Regions from separate parts of the Homo sapiens genome. Here region 2 is linked to region 1. The links are contacts of gene promoters, found by promoter capture Hi-C in human tissues and cell types (Jung and others, 2019). All regions are on one chromosome and are shown on one strand. Each heading gives the region's core, a stretch centred on a gene start or on the middle of the fragment in contact. The rest is flanking DNA. Distances are from core to core; before and after follow the strand shown.

Region 1 (4,622 bases), core at 1,797-4,296:
CTTTTGAGCGCGCGCGCGCACATACACACACACACACACACACACACACACACACACAACATTTACCCCAAAATAGTCGAAGGTTCAAAGCCCAAACACACCCAAGTCCCATGGAAGGAAGAATACCTAAACACGGAAAAGAATTTCTGGCTAGGTCAGGATAGGACATTTGCTGGACTGGAATTCGAATCTTTTTCGTTTCACAGCCTTCCCGGGCACTAACAGAGAAGAAGTCTTTCTCCATGGAAAAAAGAGCTAGCGCTTTTTCAACCCAATGTCCTTCTGGTCTCCTTGCTACACTTCCTTTCCACCTAAGTTTCCCTATCTCTGCGGGAGCACACACTAACTCCGCTCCTTCTCTCAATCTTCAAACTTATTTGGAGGGTACCGAAGTTTCTGCGCAAATTTTGCGCGCAGTTCCCACGTGCCCGCTTCAGGTCTTCAACTTTCCCTATTTTCTTTCTCCCGGAATCTCACTCTGAACTTTTGCCTCTGCGCTTCCTTGCAGAGAACCGTGGGGACAAAGCGGCGCTGTGAAAGGGGGTGGAATGATCATCTCTACCCCGAAACTGACAAGTTGCCCCACTCCCGCCCCCTCTTGGTAGATCCTCCCCCACTGAGCGTTCATTAGCATAAAACTGGTCTGGCTGGGGACCGGTCCCGCCGCCTCCTCCGTGCGCGCGCTTTGCTGGGCTGGGGAAGCCAAGGCACAGAGTATCAGGGCCGCTGAGCATCCCAGTGCAAAGTGTGCACCTGCTCGCTGCTTAAGCTACTAACCTTTAAGAAAAGAAAAGAGAGAGAAAGACAGAAAGAAAACACACTTTGGAGAGAAAGAGACAGAGAACTCGAAAGAGAGATCGAGAGAGAGCGCGCTCCGTGGCTTTCCTTCCTAATCTCTCCAGTTCAGCTTCCATTGAGTCTCGGGCAATCGGTCACCTCCCCCTACCGAAGAAAACCTGCTGGTTGCCCTCGCATCTGCCCCGGGGCCACCGTACCCCTTTATTTCCTTTGCACACGCACTCGCTCACACGCGGACACACGCACACATGCGCGAACACACAGACCCCTCCCCTCGGCTGGCTTCCCCTCCGGGCTTCGGAGCTCAAGTCCCCGGAGCCCATCCCCCGGGATGGACCCGGTCTCTCAGCTTCGCGGGTCATTTCCCTCCCGACCTCAAAGTGCCCTCCTCGGGTGCTGGTCCGCTCCCTCGCCTTTCCCAGCGGGGCCCTCACCCGGAGCGCGTCTCCCCGCTCCCCGAGCCCTGCGGAGCAGGTCACGACCTCCCCCCGCCCCCGGGACACCGCTCGGCGCCACAGATCAGCCCTGTCGGTGCCGGGAGGCTGGCCGTGGAACCCAGGTCCTGGGGAGCGCACGAACGCGGACAGCAGCGCTGAGAGGGGTCTCCAGGCGCCCGCGCGCCCGGGGCAGGGGGCTGTGGCTCCAGCAAAGGCGCCGTCCTCCTCCCTCTCGTCCCCTCCGCCCCGAGGCTCGGCTTTCCCACATCCCACAGCAGCCCATCCCCGGGACCCAGAGGGCAAGGGGAGGACCGGGCCGAAGAGCGAGGTCTGGGCAGGGTGAGGTGCCAACTTCTCAGGGGGTCGGGCGCGGCTGGCGAGCCCCGAGCAGGGAGAGGAGAGGGCCGCGCTCGCCGGGGCGCGCGGCTCGCGGGCGCGCAGAGCGAGCGGCGCCGGGAAAGGAGCGAGGGCAGGCGAGCAGGCTGGTGGGAAGGGGCGCGGGCGGCGGGGGCTATCCCCCCCGACTCACCTTGCGTTGGTGCAGTCATTGTAGAGGGTCTCGAAGTCCTTCCTGGAGATGAGTTTGCAGCGGTTCACTCCTGGCTGGATGGCGCCCAGTCCCCTCAGGATGCGAACTTGTTCCACATTGCACACCACCGGCGTGATCTCCAGCCGCTTCAGCTTGGTGTAGACCGTATGCAAGCCCCCCACCAAGTGCTTCAGGAACAGGTCGAAAGCCTGGGGCAGGCAGATCAGCTCGCAGCCCTCCACCGTGAAGGAAGCCACTTTGGCCCCCCTCAGATCCACCATTTTGCACTCATTATTCTGAGGGGTGTTTTCCACTGGGGACGGGGTTGAGTACACGGGTTTCCCGGGGAGGGGGCCGCAGCTGCTGCTGCTACTGCTGCTGCTGCTACTACTGCTGCTGCTGCTGCTGCTGCTACTGCTGCTGCTGCTGCTGCCGGTGCTGGCGTTGATGGGGGTGCTGGAAGCGACGCCGCCGCCAGCGCTGATGCCGCCGCCGCCGCCGCCGCTGCCGTTGCTCGCGGCCGCCAGGTTGGGGTTGCAGTTGCTGCCACCGCCGCCGCCGCCACCGCCGCCTCCGTTGCCGCTGCTGCCGCCGCCGCCTCCGCTGCCGCCGCCGCCGCCGCCGCCGCCGGTAGAGGTGACTGTGGCCGCCGCCGCCGCCGCCGAAGCGATGGGCTCCGGGCGGAACAGAGTTGGCCCAGAGGACGCCGGGGGTCCGATGGAAGGAGCCGGAGACGAAGTCGCCGAAGAGGTGGAGGTGGTGGTGCCAGAGGAGGAAGCAGACGTGGAGATTGGGGGTTGAGGGGGGACCAGCTGGGTCGGAGGGATCAAAGCCGCCGGCACTGCCATGGTCACATATAAGGGGAAACAGACGGAGGAGAAGCGAGAGGAAAAGTTGCCACACACCCCCGGGAGGGGAAGGGGAAAAAAGGGGGGAGAAGGAGCGAGGGGGGCAACAACAACTCCGGGAGAGAACGAGAAGGAGAAAGGGAGAGAAGGGGGAGAAAAGGAGGTGAAGGTAATAAAGAGCGAGCGCAAGAGGGGCGAGCACGAGAGGCGCTCTGGAGAGGAACGCACAAAAGTGTCCCGCAAGTCGAAATGCGAGTCCTCTCCGGGGGCTGGGATCGAGGGCTGGTTTGGGGGTGGGGGTGGGGCGGGGAGGGTCGGCTGTTGTTGTGTGGGTCTCGCTCTAGCACAAAGTTAAGGATGAAGGTGAAAAGGAGGAGGTTTGAAGGACTTGGGCTCTCCCTGGCAAGTACATTGATCAAAGATTGAGAGGGGAATGACAGAGAGAAAATGAGCTGAAAAGTGCAGGCTGCCGGCTGGACGAGTTGTTGTTGTCACACGGTGCAGAGGGGAGGAGCTCCGGAAACTTGAAATACCCTTTGAAGCCGCAAAAACCTCACTCACTAGTATTAACCCAAATTATCCAACCAGGAACTCGGAGCAGAGACTCCGAGAGCGCGAGACACTGGAGAGGGAGCGTGCGAGGAAAGGAGGAGGGGAGGGGGAGGATACGGAAAGAAACTGTGGGAGGGACGGAGAGGAAAAGCCGGGGACACAGAAGTGGCGATCGGAAAAGGAGAGGGAGATCATCTACTTCTCTTCTACTACTACCGTTAGATTGCATGTCTCACATTCCATTTCGTCCGCGGGGACTGGTAATTTTTTCCAAAGCTTCTAAACAATCGCCCGCCAACTTAAAGAGGAGCCTGAGCGCGCCGAGCTCTCTCCTTCCAGGATTTAGGATCCATCTCCACGCGTTTTGGCAATGAGCTAGAAACGAAAACACAGCCCCCACTTCACGATTATTCAGAAATTATTTTGAGGAAAATTCACATGTAAGCAAAGCGTAATGTTCTTTTGCATCTGATTGTTTATTTCTCTACTAAATTATTTATTTATATAAAGATAGTGAAAATTCCAGGACAGTTTTCAAGTGGTGAGAAGAAAGTCAGTCCGAAATCGCTTAAGAATAATGGAAAGCTCTGTATTCAATTCCATATTTCCTAATAGGTTGTGGAAAGAAATGCTTGCCTTGATGTGGATGATTTAGAATAACTTCACTGTCTCCCCAAAAGCCAGTCAGAAATACCTGTTAAACCTAGAGCTATCAAGGAGATAAGGTATCCTTGAAGATTTAGAAAGTGGAAAAAGGGTTTTCTTACCCAAAACTCTATAATTAATTCACCTGTCTTACACAGTAACCAACTATCCTCATGTCCTTTAAGACCCAAAGCCAATTGCTAATGTGTTTTTTGGACAACACAATAGTTTTTTTTTTTTTTTTTTCATGTTTGAAAAGTGCTGCTGTAGTTTTGGAAAGTCCTTTTCAATTTGTCAGTAAATATATGTTTTGTAAATAATGGGAAGAACAAAAACAAAGCTCACTAGTTGACTTGTAAAGACTTGGGTAGCTGTGCTTAAAACAACATGAGGCTGAGTTTAGACTGACTCTATTCCTCCTTTCCTTCCTCTTTCCTTTTCTTTTCTTTTCTAACTTGTTGCACTGAAGTATTTATTCAAGGATTTTTGACTAACATATCATTTGAATATGGGTCAAATCTATTTGCTGCTCATGTCTCCAAGTATCTTCAATTAGTTAGCCTTTGAACCGGTCCACACATGTTCAGTAAGTTCATAAGATATGAAGCAATGCTTTAGCATTTGACAGATTTTTAAAATAAACTGTTAGTAGCAGGTTCACAGGGTTGGGAAATTTTATAATAAAATTTTTGCCATTCTGGTGTTGAAATGATCACATTTCTCTATATCATTTTAAGCCTTTGAACTCTGTGAATCGCAGTGTCAAATAGTGCAGGAACTGTCTACCGAAAAATAGAAATATGACACTATGGA
Region 2 (4,278 bases), core at 393-2,892, 86 kb before region 1:
ACCTATTTTATGTTTCTACTTGTGCAAATCTCAAGTTTTGGACTCACCACAGAGAATTATGCAGACTTATTTCTCTTTCCTACTATATTGTGAGCTGAGAACAAAAACTCTTTATTAAATCTCTGGAAACCTCTTCTCTATATTAGTGCCTGGCATATTGTGGGTGCTTCAAAAACATCCTATGAAGGAAGGAATGAATGAATGAATGAATGAATGAAAATAATAAGGATCAAATGGGATATTATATATAAAAAGGCTGTGTAAACCATAAAACATTACTGGGGGATAAGGGTCAGGTAAAGATCAATAGAGATTTAAAAAGAACTGTGACCAGAATAGGAATTACATCAGCAAGGGAAAGAACGGGAGAGGCTTCCAGATAAAAAAGCATACACAAAGACTGAAAAGTTAGAAAGAGCTTGGCAAGTTGAGGGAACTGAGGAAGGTTCAGTGAGGCATTTTAGAGTTTTTTCATTGTGCTATATAAATTTATATGATATTAACATTTTTATGTGATCAATCAAATAATAACATTATTTTTACATTGACACTATCATTTAAATTTCAGAGGATTCTGGAGCACTTTATGTATATTTAGATTAAATATATTATTTTGTTTATCCCTTATAAAACATATCAAATAAAATATGCAGGGCATTACAAATAACACGGTATGAAACAGAGGCTACCACATATTTTTGAAAATTAGCTACAAGTTGATAGAATTATCAGTGTTGAAAATCTACTCTTGAACCTGGGAGACGGAGGTTGCAGTGAGCCAAGACTACGCCACTGCATTGTAGTCTGGGCGACAGAGAGAGACTTCATCTCAAAAAAAAAAAAAAATTCTCTTAATGAAAAGAATGTTCCTCTCTCCCCTCTCTTCCTTCACTTAACTTTTACTCTTCCTTTGGTAAAATAAAAAATGTGCTATAAAAGTGAAATCACTTTCTTTCCTGCCTTTTTAATGTTTTGTTTAACTTTCTTGTTACACTCCCTGAATAGTGAAATACATTTTCAAATTATTGCTAAGAATAGGCCGGTCTCAGTGGCTCATGTCTGCAATCCCAGCATTTTGGGAGGCCAAGGCAAGAGAACTACCTGAACGTAGGAATTCAAGACCAGCATGGGCAACATAGCGAGACCTTATCTCTACAAAAAATAAAAATAAATTAGCTGGGTGTGGTGGCACGTGCCTGTAGTCCAGTTACTTGGGAGGCTAAGGTGGGAGGATCACTTGAGCCCAGGAGGTTGAGGCTGCAGTGAGCTATGATAGTGACACTGCACTCCAGCCTGGGTGACAGAGCGAGATTTTGTTATGGTAAGTTTGAAACTTTCACTGTGCCTTCCCTTTGGTTCATTAGGTTATAATAAAGGCCACAAGCTCAAATGCCTCAAGAACCAGGCAGGGAACAAACAAATCCTGTGGGAACCACAGTGAACCTGCACACAGGTCCACAGAAAGGAAGCAACTGTAACTCACCTCTAGAGAACTGTTGCCATGCCAACACTAGGTCCAGATCTTTTTTATTTTTATTTATTTATTTATTTATTTATTTATTTATTTATTTATTTATTTTTTGAGACGGAGTCTAGCTCTGTCACCCAGGCTGGAGTGCAGTGGCACCATCTCGGCTCACTGCAAGCTCTGCCTCCTGGGTTCATGCCATTCTCCTGCCTCAGCCTCCCAAGTAGCTGAGACTACAGGCACCCGCCAAAGCGCCCGGCTAATTTTTTCTATTTTTAGTAGAGACGGGGTTTCACCGTGTTAGCCAGGATGGTCTCGATCTCCTGACCTCGTGATCCGCCCGCCTCGGCCTCCCAAAGTGCTGGGATTACAGGCGTGAGCCACCATGCCTGGCCAAGGTCCAGATCTTTAGGATTCTTAGACGACCTAACAATTATGATTTTTCTTTGGAATTTTCATGGTAAATTTGATGCATAATTCATGTGGTTCAAAGATCACTCTGGACTGAACAAAATGATGTTTCTATGAGATATGAGTTGGCAACCTCAGTTCAGTATAACATTTCCTTATTTCTGTTTTCTGACACACACTACACAAAAGGTTTGTGAACCTTTACATATGTTTTTAAAATGTTGAATTGGATCAGATCATCCCATCTTCAGAAAGCTTGAATGATGCTACACTGATTACTGCAATAAGTACCAATTTCTCAACTAGACATTGGTTGCCCAGTAAAATATATCTCCAAAGCTGTAACTATCTCATCATCCTACAGACCCTTAAGTTTCAGGCAAAATGGACACATTTCACTCATGTCTCATCCTCCTATTCTGCAAAACCCATTAAACATCATTTCATTAGAAAATAAATGTTTGTGGCTGGGCCTGGTGGCTGACACTTGTAATCCCAGCACTTTAGGAGGCCAAGGCAGGTGGATCGCTTGAGGTCAGGAGTTCAAGGCCAGCCTGGCCAAAATGGTGAAACCCCGTTTCTATTAAAAATACAAAAAATTAGCTGGGCATGGTGATGCATGCCTGTAGTCCTAGCCACTAAGGAGGCTGAGGCAGAAGAACTGCTTGAACCTGGGAGGCAGAGGTTGAAGTCAGTGCAGACCATGCCACTGCACTCCAGCCTGTGGACAGCAGGAGACTGTCTCAAATAAATAAATAAATAAACAAAATAGAAATAAAAATAAAATAAATAAATAAACTGAAAAAGAAATGTTTGTGTTCTTATCCTTCCAGTAGTCCCAGTGCCTAATAATCTGTATTACTGGTAAAGTTTGTATCAAATATTATCTTGTGTTAAAGTGAATAGTTTCTTTACAAATCTCCCATAAAAATCACAGCATCAGGAACTATCTTAGTCATCAGCATCCATTCATCTGCTTTTTCCCATAGTGCGTACTCTGGCAGGCACTAAACCAGAGTTTTTACCTTCATTTTCATACCTAACAATCCTGAGAAATCAAAAATAAAATACTTATTCATGACAGTTATTTGTGCACATTTGAATCTAGACAGTGTAGTAATAGGTATTATTGCAGGCTAATAAACCAACGAGAGGGCAGGATTTGTCAGCCAAAGTTGAAATTATTTTATCTAATTTCTTCAAAGTAAGAAGATTTCTTCCACCAAAAATATTTTTTAAAAATTATTCCTCAAAGTCCCTCAAGCCATTATCACAGGAAGGATCAATAATAAGAGACTGGCATTGACAGTGAAAGAGGGAAGGATCAATAATAAGAAACTGGCATTGACAGTGAAAGATAACAACAAAGATAAAGGCATTGCTTCAAAAGACCAGTCAGTGGCTATACACACAGACGTACACACGTTCCTGCACAGAGAAAGGAGTTACAACACTATCACCAGAAAGATTATGACATGTAAGGGATTTGGAGGTCTAACATCAAAACCTAAAGATAGCTGTATTAGATCCATAGTGATGCCTTCATAAAACAATAAAAGGCAACTCAAGATGAACAAAATACGGTGAAAACTGGCTAATCACTATCAAGTTCCATTCTCATTCTGAACATAAACTTATAACTAAAGTCTAGGAAAAGGTACTTAATATTCCTACAGAAAAGAAAGAGATGAAATTTAGTCACTAACATATACAAACAAGATCAAGATCCCCGCTTATGTTTTCCTATCAAAGGACAGGCAGAGGTTCCAAAAATGTAAGATAAAAATAATGTGATAACAGTAATTATAGGATGATTGAGTTAATTTAAGAAATATCTCCTGTACTCTTATGGCTCAGATATTGTACCAGGGAACCAGAATACAGAAACGATAACCAACGATACCTGCCCCCAAGAGCATTGCCTTTAGTAGGAAAGGCAGAGAAGAAGGAATGGTTACAATAGATTATAAGAAGGAGTCTTAAGAGGAGTGATTGAAATTTAAATATCTTTCTATGGTATACTTAACTCTTGCTCAGAGTGACTGGGCAGGGAGAGTTTCACAGAGAAAGTGTCACTGGAGCTGGCATTTAAAGAATGAATGGAAAAAAACATAAAAGACACAAAATAATTTAGGTTTGATTTAAGGTTTTTTTTTTGTTTCCTTTTTTAAGAGGTATAAAAATAAAAAACAGGATAGTATTAACTCTATTTACTCACTAACATAGGTTGGCTCTCATCCTGGGAGATGAAATACATATTCTCCAAGGTTTAAAAAAAAAAAAAAAACAAAAAAAAAACTAAAGATAACAAAAGTGTTAGCATAAAAGTAAAAACTTATTGAGGACAACTGAGAGGTTGCTGCCTTTATGAAATAGAGAGAGTACAGTGAATTTGAAGT

The links. The method cuts DNA at HindIII sites, captures the fragments that hold promoters and counts their contacts. A contact is called where the count stands out against the background at its distance.
Region 2: a fragment that was not itself captured here is called in contact with the fragment with the promoter of DACH1 in region 1 in 2 of the 25 tissues and cell types used here (lymphoblastoid cells and spleen).

What each region holds. Positions count from the first base shown.
Region 1 is chr13:71,864,158-71,868,779 of GRCh38, forward strand. DACH1 (dachshund family transcription factor 1) reads right to left here and starts at 3,047. Exons shown (of 11, transcript NM_080759.6): 1 at 1,765-3,047. The coding sequence starts at 2,612. The HindIII fragment of the contact is 6,446 bases long and covers 1-4,622 here.
Region 2 is chr13:71,779,815-71,784,092 of GRCh38, forward strand. The region is part of intron 1 of DACH1 (dachshund family transcription factor 1); the gene reads right to left. Among named protein-coding and RNA genes, the nearest start is that of DACH1, 85 kb to the right of the region's middle. The HindIII fragment of the contact is 5,838 bases long and covers 1-4,278 here.